Regions from separate parts of the Homo sapiens genome. Here region 2 is linked to region 1. Evidence: promoter capture Hi-C in 16 types of primary human blood cells and fetal thymus (Javierre and others, 2016). All regions are on one chromosome and are shown on one strand. The core of a region is centred on a gene start or on the middle of the fragment in contact, and the rest is flanking DNA. Distances in the headings are between cores, read along the strand shown. Region 1 holds the start of SLU7 (spliceosome associated SLU7). Region 2 overlaps LOC105377700 (a long non-coding RNA gene).

Region 1 (3,570 bases), core at 206-2,705:
AAGCATATACAAAAAAATCAGCCAGGCGTGGTGGCGTGCACCTGTAATCCTAGCTACTCGGGAGGCTGAGACAGGAGAATCACCTGAACCCAGGAGGCCGATATTGCAGTGAGCTGATATTGCGTCACTGCACTCCAGCCTGGGCGACAGAGCTAGACTACGTCTCAAAAAAAAAAAAAAAAAAATGACGCTCCAAAGGATTTTATCATTCGTACTCTAAAAACTGACATCTTTTTAACACACCTACACGGTCCACCATGGTCTGGCACCTGCCTACCTTCCAGCCTCACCATTACAACTATCCCCGCTTCCTTCTCTACTAACTACATAGACCTTCTTGTAGTTCCTCTAGTTCCTCTAACAAACCGTGCTCCCTGTAGACACTGGGCCTTTACACAAGCTCTTTCCCAGTGGAAAGTGCTCAATGCCTGGGGGTCTACGATGCTTCTCAAAGGTGTTCTCTTCTATGTCTGACCTATAGAAAACCTCCACATATATTTGTGTAACATATAAACTGATGGCCTAAATATACTGCGAAGAGAAGCACAACAACGGTAAATTTAATCTTTATTAAAACAGCTACCATTTCTCGAGCCTACCGTGTATCACCTCATCTAATCTTCACAATAAGCCCAGTAGATAGGTCTGATGAACACCATTTTACAGTGAAGAAACAGGTTCTGAGAGGTAAGATCCTCAGCCAAGAACACATTGTAGTAAGAAATAAGGACTTCAAACACAACTCTGACTCCAAAGTCAGTTCTCTAAACCAGTATGTTATACTTGTCCACAGAACATTGGCTTCTGGGCCTAAAATATTAAAAACTAAAACTGAATAAAGTATTATAGTCACCAAGTTGTACGCACTAGTTTCCGTCGCTGTGGAGGGACCTATTTTCTCCAACTAAAAACAGTAATAGCTCCCACTTACTGAGGGCTTACGTAAGACACTGTTTAGCGCTTTACTTACATAGATGTTTTCATTTATACCCGCATGATACCCCACTGAAGTCGGATCATCTCGACTTAACAGGAAAAACTGAAGCTCAAGTAAATTTTTCTGGCGAGGAAATACAGTCTGTCAATTTGGGTACTGGAAGCAGCTTTCCCTGCTCGCAGTCCGGGGATTGCTCAAGGTCTTCGAGGCACCGCCACAAAGGCGACACTCTCATAGTTATCCCGACTGTTTCCCTGAAGACGCAGGCCTGGCCTGGCAGGGCACGAGTGCCATGAATGGGTCTCAGGACAGTGGCTTTTCGGTCCCCCGTCCTCGCTCCCTCAACACCTGAGGGCTCATCACCCCCGTGAAGATATATCCAATAATTAGGAGCCTTCGACTCATTTTCTCAGGTTCCCCAACTCCCCGTCGCCCGCAAGTTCTAACAATATTTTCTTACCCAGCCCCGCCGCAGCTAGCCCCAAGTCCATCCGACAGAATCCAAGCCAATCTCGTAATGTTTACTTCCGGCTTTTCGCCTAATTCCGGCGGCCACTGCGGTAACTTCCGGATGACCGGCACATGCGCACTAATTTCCTGGCGGGGCCGGGGGCGGAGGGGGGCCCTCCAGTGCTCCTGCGCCGTGGGAAACGCGAGAACTCTAGCTGCTGCGTATCGCGCTATTTACCCGGCTTGTGGGGAGTTTCAAGTTGGGCGGCTACTTTTTGGCTTCTATTTAGGAGCTTTCTTTTAGAATCGGAGAATTTTAGGAAGTTAAAAAAAAAAAAAAAAGACCAGAACAGACAAGAGCTTAAGCCTCACCAGGGGACTATGAAATGAATGGGGAAGTTGGTGACGTATCAGCTTAAAAAAAAAAAAAAAGCAGTTAAACTTGGCACTAATTAGTAGCCAGGCTGTGTAACATGCTGGGGATTTGGTGAACAGTGTCTTCCCTCAGATTTACATCAGAGTGCGAAAGACACCGAAACAACTATTCAGATTTAGCAGCTGTGAAAAGTTGCTATGAAAAGAATACCAGGTGCTGTGAGAACATAAGGCATGTTATCATTAGAAAAAAATACGACAATTTCCATTTTGGAGAAACAGTATCTATGCTATCCCATCCCTTCTTTAAAAGTATACATGTGAAATAAAACACTGGAAAATAAACTAATTTTCGTGGTAGAATTTCTTGTGATTTTTTTTTTTCTTTGTGCTTTCTATTCTGGTTGTTCTCCCCCTCCCCCCCATAACGTGTATCCTTTTTGAATGTAAAAGTAAAAGTAGCTACCATTCCTGCCTCAATAAAATAGCCCAACATAATAGAATCTATTTTTTTCGTATTAAGAATTTGCAATACCTGGAGTTTAGGAACATAAATATTAATTTTGCTTTTACAGGGCAGTAGATGAAGAAACAGTGTCAGAGACTAGCGTGAAAGTGAATAGAGTCTATGAATCACTCAGGCTTTGTTTTTTTCCACTTAAAAATATTCCTGAAATTTGCTTAGGAGTGTTAAGGCCTAATTAGCCAAAACCACCAGGAGAGCGCATCTCGAAGAGGAATCAGAAAGCGCAGGACAAGACAGTTGAATCTTTTCTAAGACTTGAGGTCCCTCTGGAGGGTTCTGAGGAAGGTCTAGGAAAGCCGGGATTGGTTCTGGATGGGTTGCTGTTTGTAAAGAAGGATTGGGAGAAACTGATTAGGGACTAAGTGCTGTTATGAGTGAGGGTGGTTTAGCAATTGAGTATTTCCAGTAATAGGAATAGCAAAGCTGGTCTGAGGGCATCATTAGTAAGAAAACAGTGGTTATTCAGAGAGGGTGGTTATGGTTTACAGCTGCTGCATGACCTTAGGAGAAACAATGCTTTCTGTTGGTGAAAAAAAGAAGACATCCTAAGACAAACCTTGCACCTCAAAACCTCTGTAGATAGAGAATCCCCACTTGGAAGCTATAGGTGTTGTGCAGATTTAGTCTTAAAAATTAACACTTTGAGTGCTGATAATATAATATGATGATGTAAAATTTAGGAGATACAGGAGGAAATAAAGGATGGGGATAAAGGAAAAAGAACAGTGAAGGGACAATAAAGGTATGCATATTTTTCTGTCTTTCCTCTTTTCTTCACCTTAAGTTAGGCTCTTTTCTTATAACCTAGTATAATGTCCAGCATTTAATAGGTATTCAATAAATATTTGTGAATGAATGAATCATTCAATCAATATTGGTCCTGAAATGCCAGGGAAAAAGAGATGATGAACTGGCATATATTGAGAACCATGTCTATGTCAGGTATAGTGTCAAGCCTTTCGTGAAAGAGTAATATGGAATCAACTCCTCTCTCTCAGCTGATCTGCAGCTTAAAATGCATATATGGTGAACTGTGGGAAGCGGAGTTTGAATGACACAGGTCAGCCTTATGTTTTAATTTATATCTTCATCTTGTAGTTGTTCAATGTATTCCATTTTACTATAGAAACAGGAAAAGGTCGTCAACTTTTTCAAGCAAAATTTCTTTTCATATCTGGGAAATTGGAATTCCTTTTTTATATCTTTATTATCTCTCTGATATTCTCTTGCTCCCTGGCCAAGCCCTTCCAGGCAACTTTGGTTAATATATTATTGAGATGTT
Region 2 (3,513 bases), core at 730-3,229, 3.0 Mb after region 1:
AAATAATGGCTGAAATTTCCCCAAATCTGGGGCAAGACAGCAACATCCAGGTACAGGGAGCTCGGAATCACTAACCAAATTCAAACCTAAGAGGAGTTCACCAAAGCACATTGTAATAAAATTATTAAAAATTTAAGACAAAGAATACAGAAAGCAGCAAAAGATAAGAAGCACATCATGTTCAAAAAGCTCTAATACACCTTTCAGCAGATTTCTCAGCAGAAACTTTGCAGGCCAGAGAAGAATAGAATGATATATTCAAAGTGCTGGGGAAAACAACTGCCAATCAAGGATATTTTAACCAGCAAAACTGTCCTTCAGAAATGAGTGAGAAATAAAAACTTTCCCAGGAAAACAAAACCTAACAGAGTTCACCAGCATTAGGCCTATGCTATAGGAATTGCTAAAATTCATTTTTAGGCTGAAATAAAAGCTAATTAATAACAAAAAGACACACAAAAGTAAAAAACTCAATAATACAAGTAATACATAGTCATACTCAGCATTCTCAAATACTGTTACAGTGATGTGGAAAGCATTTGTATCACTACTATGTGGGTTAAAAGAAAACTATTAAAAACAACTGTATCTACAATAAATTATTAAATTATAATTATATATAAAATTATATATAATTATAAATTATTAAAGAATACAAATTACCAAACAAAGGTAAATCTTGACATCAAAATTATAAAAAGTGGGAAGGGAGCGTGTAAGTGTAGAGTTTCTGTATGTGAGTAAAGTTAAGTTATTATCAGCCTAAAGTAGCATGTTAGAAGGATAAGATGTTTTATGTAAACATAAACATGGTAGCCACAAAGCAAAAACCTATAGTATTTCTGCAACATGCAAAAAGAAAGGATTGAAAGCATACCACCGCAGAAAACCATAAAACTGTTCTGGAACCAAACTGAGGGTCAGGCTTCTATTTCTCGTGGCCCAATAATGAGATGCAGATGAACTGGGGAGGAAGAGAGTTTTCATTTCTGTAACTGGTTATAGGGACAAGGCCTGGAAAATATCACCAGACCAACTCAAAATTACAAAGTCTTCCAGAGCTTATATAACTTCTAAGCTATATGTCGATGTGTAAGTGTGCATTCATCTAAAGACATAAGTGATTAACTTCTTTTAATCTACAACTAAGAACTGAGTCCTGAAGACCTTCCTCTGGAGCCTCAGTAAATTTCCTGATGGGTAAGTTTACTCAGTGTATTTACTAAATGGGTCCGAGTGCTGAAGTGATTACCCTTATCTTGTCTCCTGCTAAATCATGGAGGTTTGGGGAGTTTCTACAGACTCCCAATAAAACTTGTTTAATCTTAAACAGATCCTGTTAAGAATTGCTTTATTTTTACATCCTTTAAGACCCAGAAAAGGCCTAGGCAAAACTCTTAATGAGCTTTTATTACATTCCAGCCTTTGTATAAGGGCACTGTCCCTTTCAGCTTTTAATATTTAACTTAAGCACTCAGTCAGTAGTAAAACAGTTGTTATGGAGTTCTGTGTTATAGTGAGACCTGCCCTGTCACAAAACCACAAAGAAAGACAGCAAGAGAAGAAGAAAGAAACAAAAGACATGCAAAACAGTCAAACACATTACTCACAATAGCCAAGACAGGGAATCAACCTAAGTGTCCAATAACAAATGAATGGATACAGAAAATCTGGCATATGTACACAATGGAATACTGTTCAGCCTTAAAAAAAGAAAATTCTGTCATCTGTGACAACATGAATGAATCCAGGGGACATTAAGCTAAGTGAGATAAGCGAGGCACAGAAAACAAATATCACATGATCAACTTAGATGGAGAATCTTAAAAAGCTGAACTCATAGAAGCACAGAGTAGAATGATGCTTACCAGAGGCTGGCAGAGGGTGAAAGGGGGCAGGGGAAGGGGGTGTAACAAGTCAGTGAGGGAGCAAATGGAGAACTGTTGATCAAAGGGTACAAAGTTTTAGATAGGGAGGAGAAATAGGTTGCGAGATCTGCTGCACAGCAGAGTAACTATAGTCAATAATAATGTATTATATATTTCAAAATTACTAAGAGAGTACATTTCAAATGTCTCACCATAAAAAAGATAGGTAAACAAGGTGAAGAATATGTTGATTAGCTTGATTTAATCATGCCACATTGCATACAGATATCATAACATCACACTGTACCTTATAAATATTTACAATAGATTTCTCAATCAATAATATTGACAAAATAAATGAGAAAAGATGACAAAATTAAAAGAGACTATTATAGATTAAAAGGGTTAAGAATATAAATGCCAAATGCAACGTGAACACCTTGTTTGGACACTGATTCAAACAAACTAACTTTAAAAAAGTCTTTTTGAAGTAATCAAGGAAATGGAATATGAACTGGGTATAAAATAATGTTAAGAAAGTATTGTTCATTTCGTTAGTACGATAACAGCAGTGTGATTTTGTTTTTTAAAATGTCCTTATAAGTCAGGGATGCATAATAAACTAGTAACATAAGTTAGATGACATGATATTAAGGACTCTAAAATATAAAATATACCAGCAAAATTTAACACTACCACCAGCAATAGTAGCAATGGTAGTTGTAGTGGAGATGAAAAATAAAGTGAACAAAATATTTATAATGTGGAAACTGCAAAATATGTATATTAAGGTTCACTTTCTTTTTCTCTCTACTTCTGTAATGTTTGAAAATTTCCATAATAACAAATAATTTAAGCCTCAAATAATTTGGAAGCATGTCTCATGAGTTAGGTGGTGATTAAAATGTGTTACTCTATTTTGGTCAAAAACAATGCCTGTCTCTACTATAATAAGCAGTTTTCCTGTGTGTTATTGAAGGCAATTTCAGAAGAGAAGAACTGGGTTTGAATTATCATTCTGGGTGATCTTGTGTGCAGAGATCTGTGTCTCTGCATACCTTGTTTTCCTTATAGGTTAACTAAGGAAGTTAAATTATTGGATCACCAAATCTTTTCCAACACATTTCTAGAGCTGTTTCACTTAATGACAGATTATTAGATAAGGGAATAGCTTTTTATGGCCATAATAATCCTTTGAATATGTAAGTATTCATTTTCAAAATAATTTTTAAAAACAGCTTCATTACCTGTAATAATGACTATATTTAATATTTGACCACAGCAATTATACAAGGTCAGAAATACTCAAAACCAATTAATTCCATGAACAATAGCATATGAGAAAACTGCTTCAATATATTGTATTCCAGTCAGAGTGAACCTATAATCCCTGGAAATTCTTACCTGCTAATAGTTATCTAATTCTGATTATCTGCATGGCTCAGGTCACCAGATAACAGCTTAATTTACTACAGTGAATAGACTGCTTACCCTGTTACATCTCAAAGATTCTCCAAAACAGATAACTGGTACTGAATAAATTAAAAGAAACAATTTGGAGGTTTTCTACTCTTCAAACCAGTTATACTGATGATGTATAGTGTACTTAACCTTGTGAATCAGATATTTGACAGTAAATTAAACT

The links. Contacts are between HindIII fragments. The CHiCAGO score rates a contact against its expected background, and 5 or more counts as called.
Region 2: a fragment that was not itself captured here is called in contact with the fragment with the promoter of SLU7 in region 1 in 1 of 17 cell types (M0 macrophages); the score reaches 5.1 in M0 macrophages.

What each region holds. Positions count from the first base shown.
Region 1 is chr5:160,417,626-160,421,195 of GRCh38, forward strand. SLU7 (spliceosome associated SLU7) reads right to left here and starts at 1,456. Exons shown (of 16, transcript NM_006425.5): 1 at 1,398-1,456. RefSeq lists enhancers at 1,168-1,217, 1,668-1,787, 1,798-1,867. The HindIII fragment of the contact is 5,685 bases long and covers 1-3,570 here.
Region 2 is chr5:163,372,086-163,375,598 of GRCh38, forward strand. All of the region lies in intron 1 of LOC105377700 (a long non-coding RNA gene), which reads right to left. Among named protein-coding and RNA genes, the nearest start is that of CCNG1, 64 kb to the right of the region's middle. RefSeq lists an enhancer at 1,283-1,784. The HindIII fragment of the contact is 6,750 bases long and covers 1-3,513 here.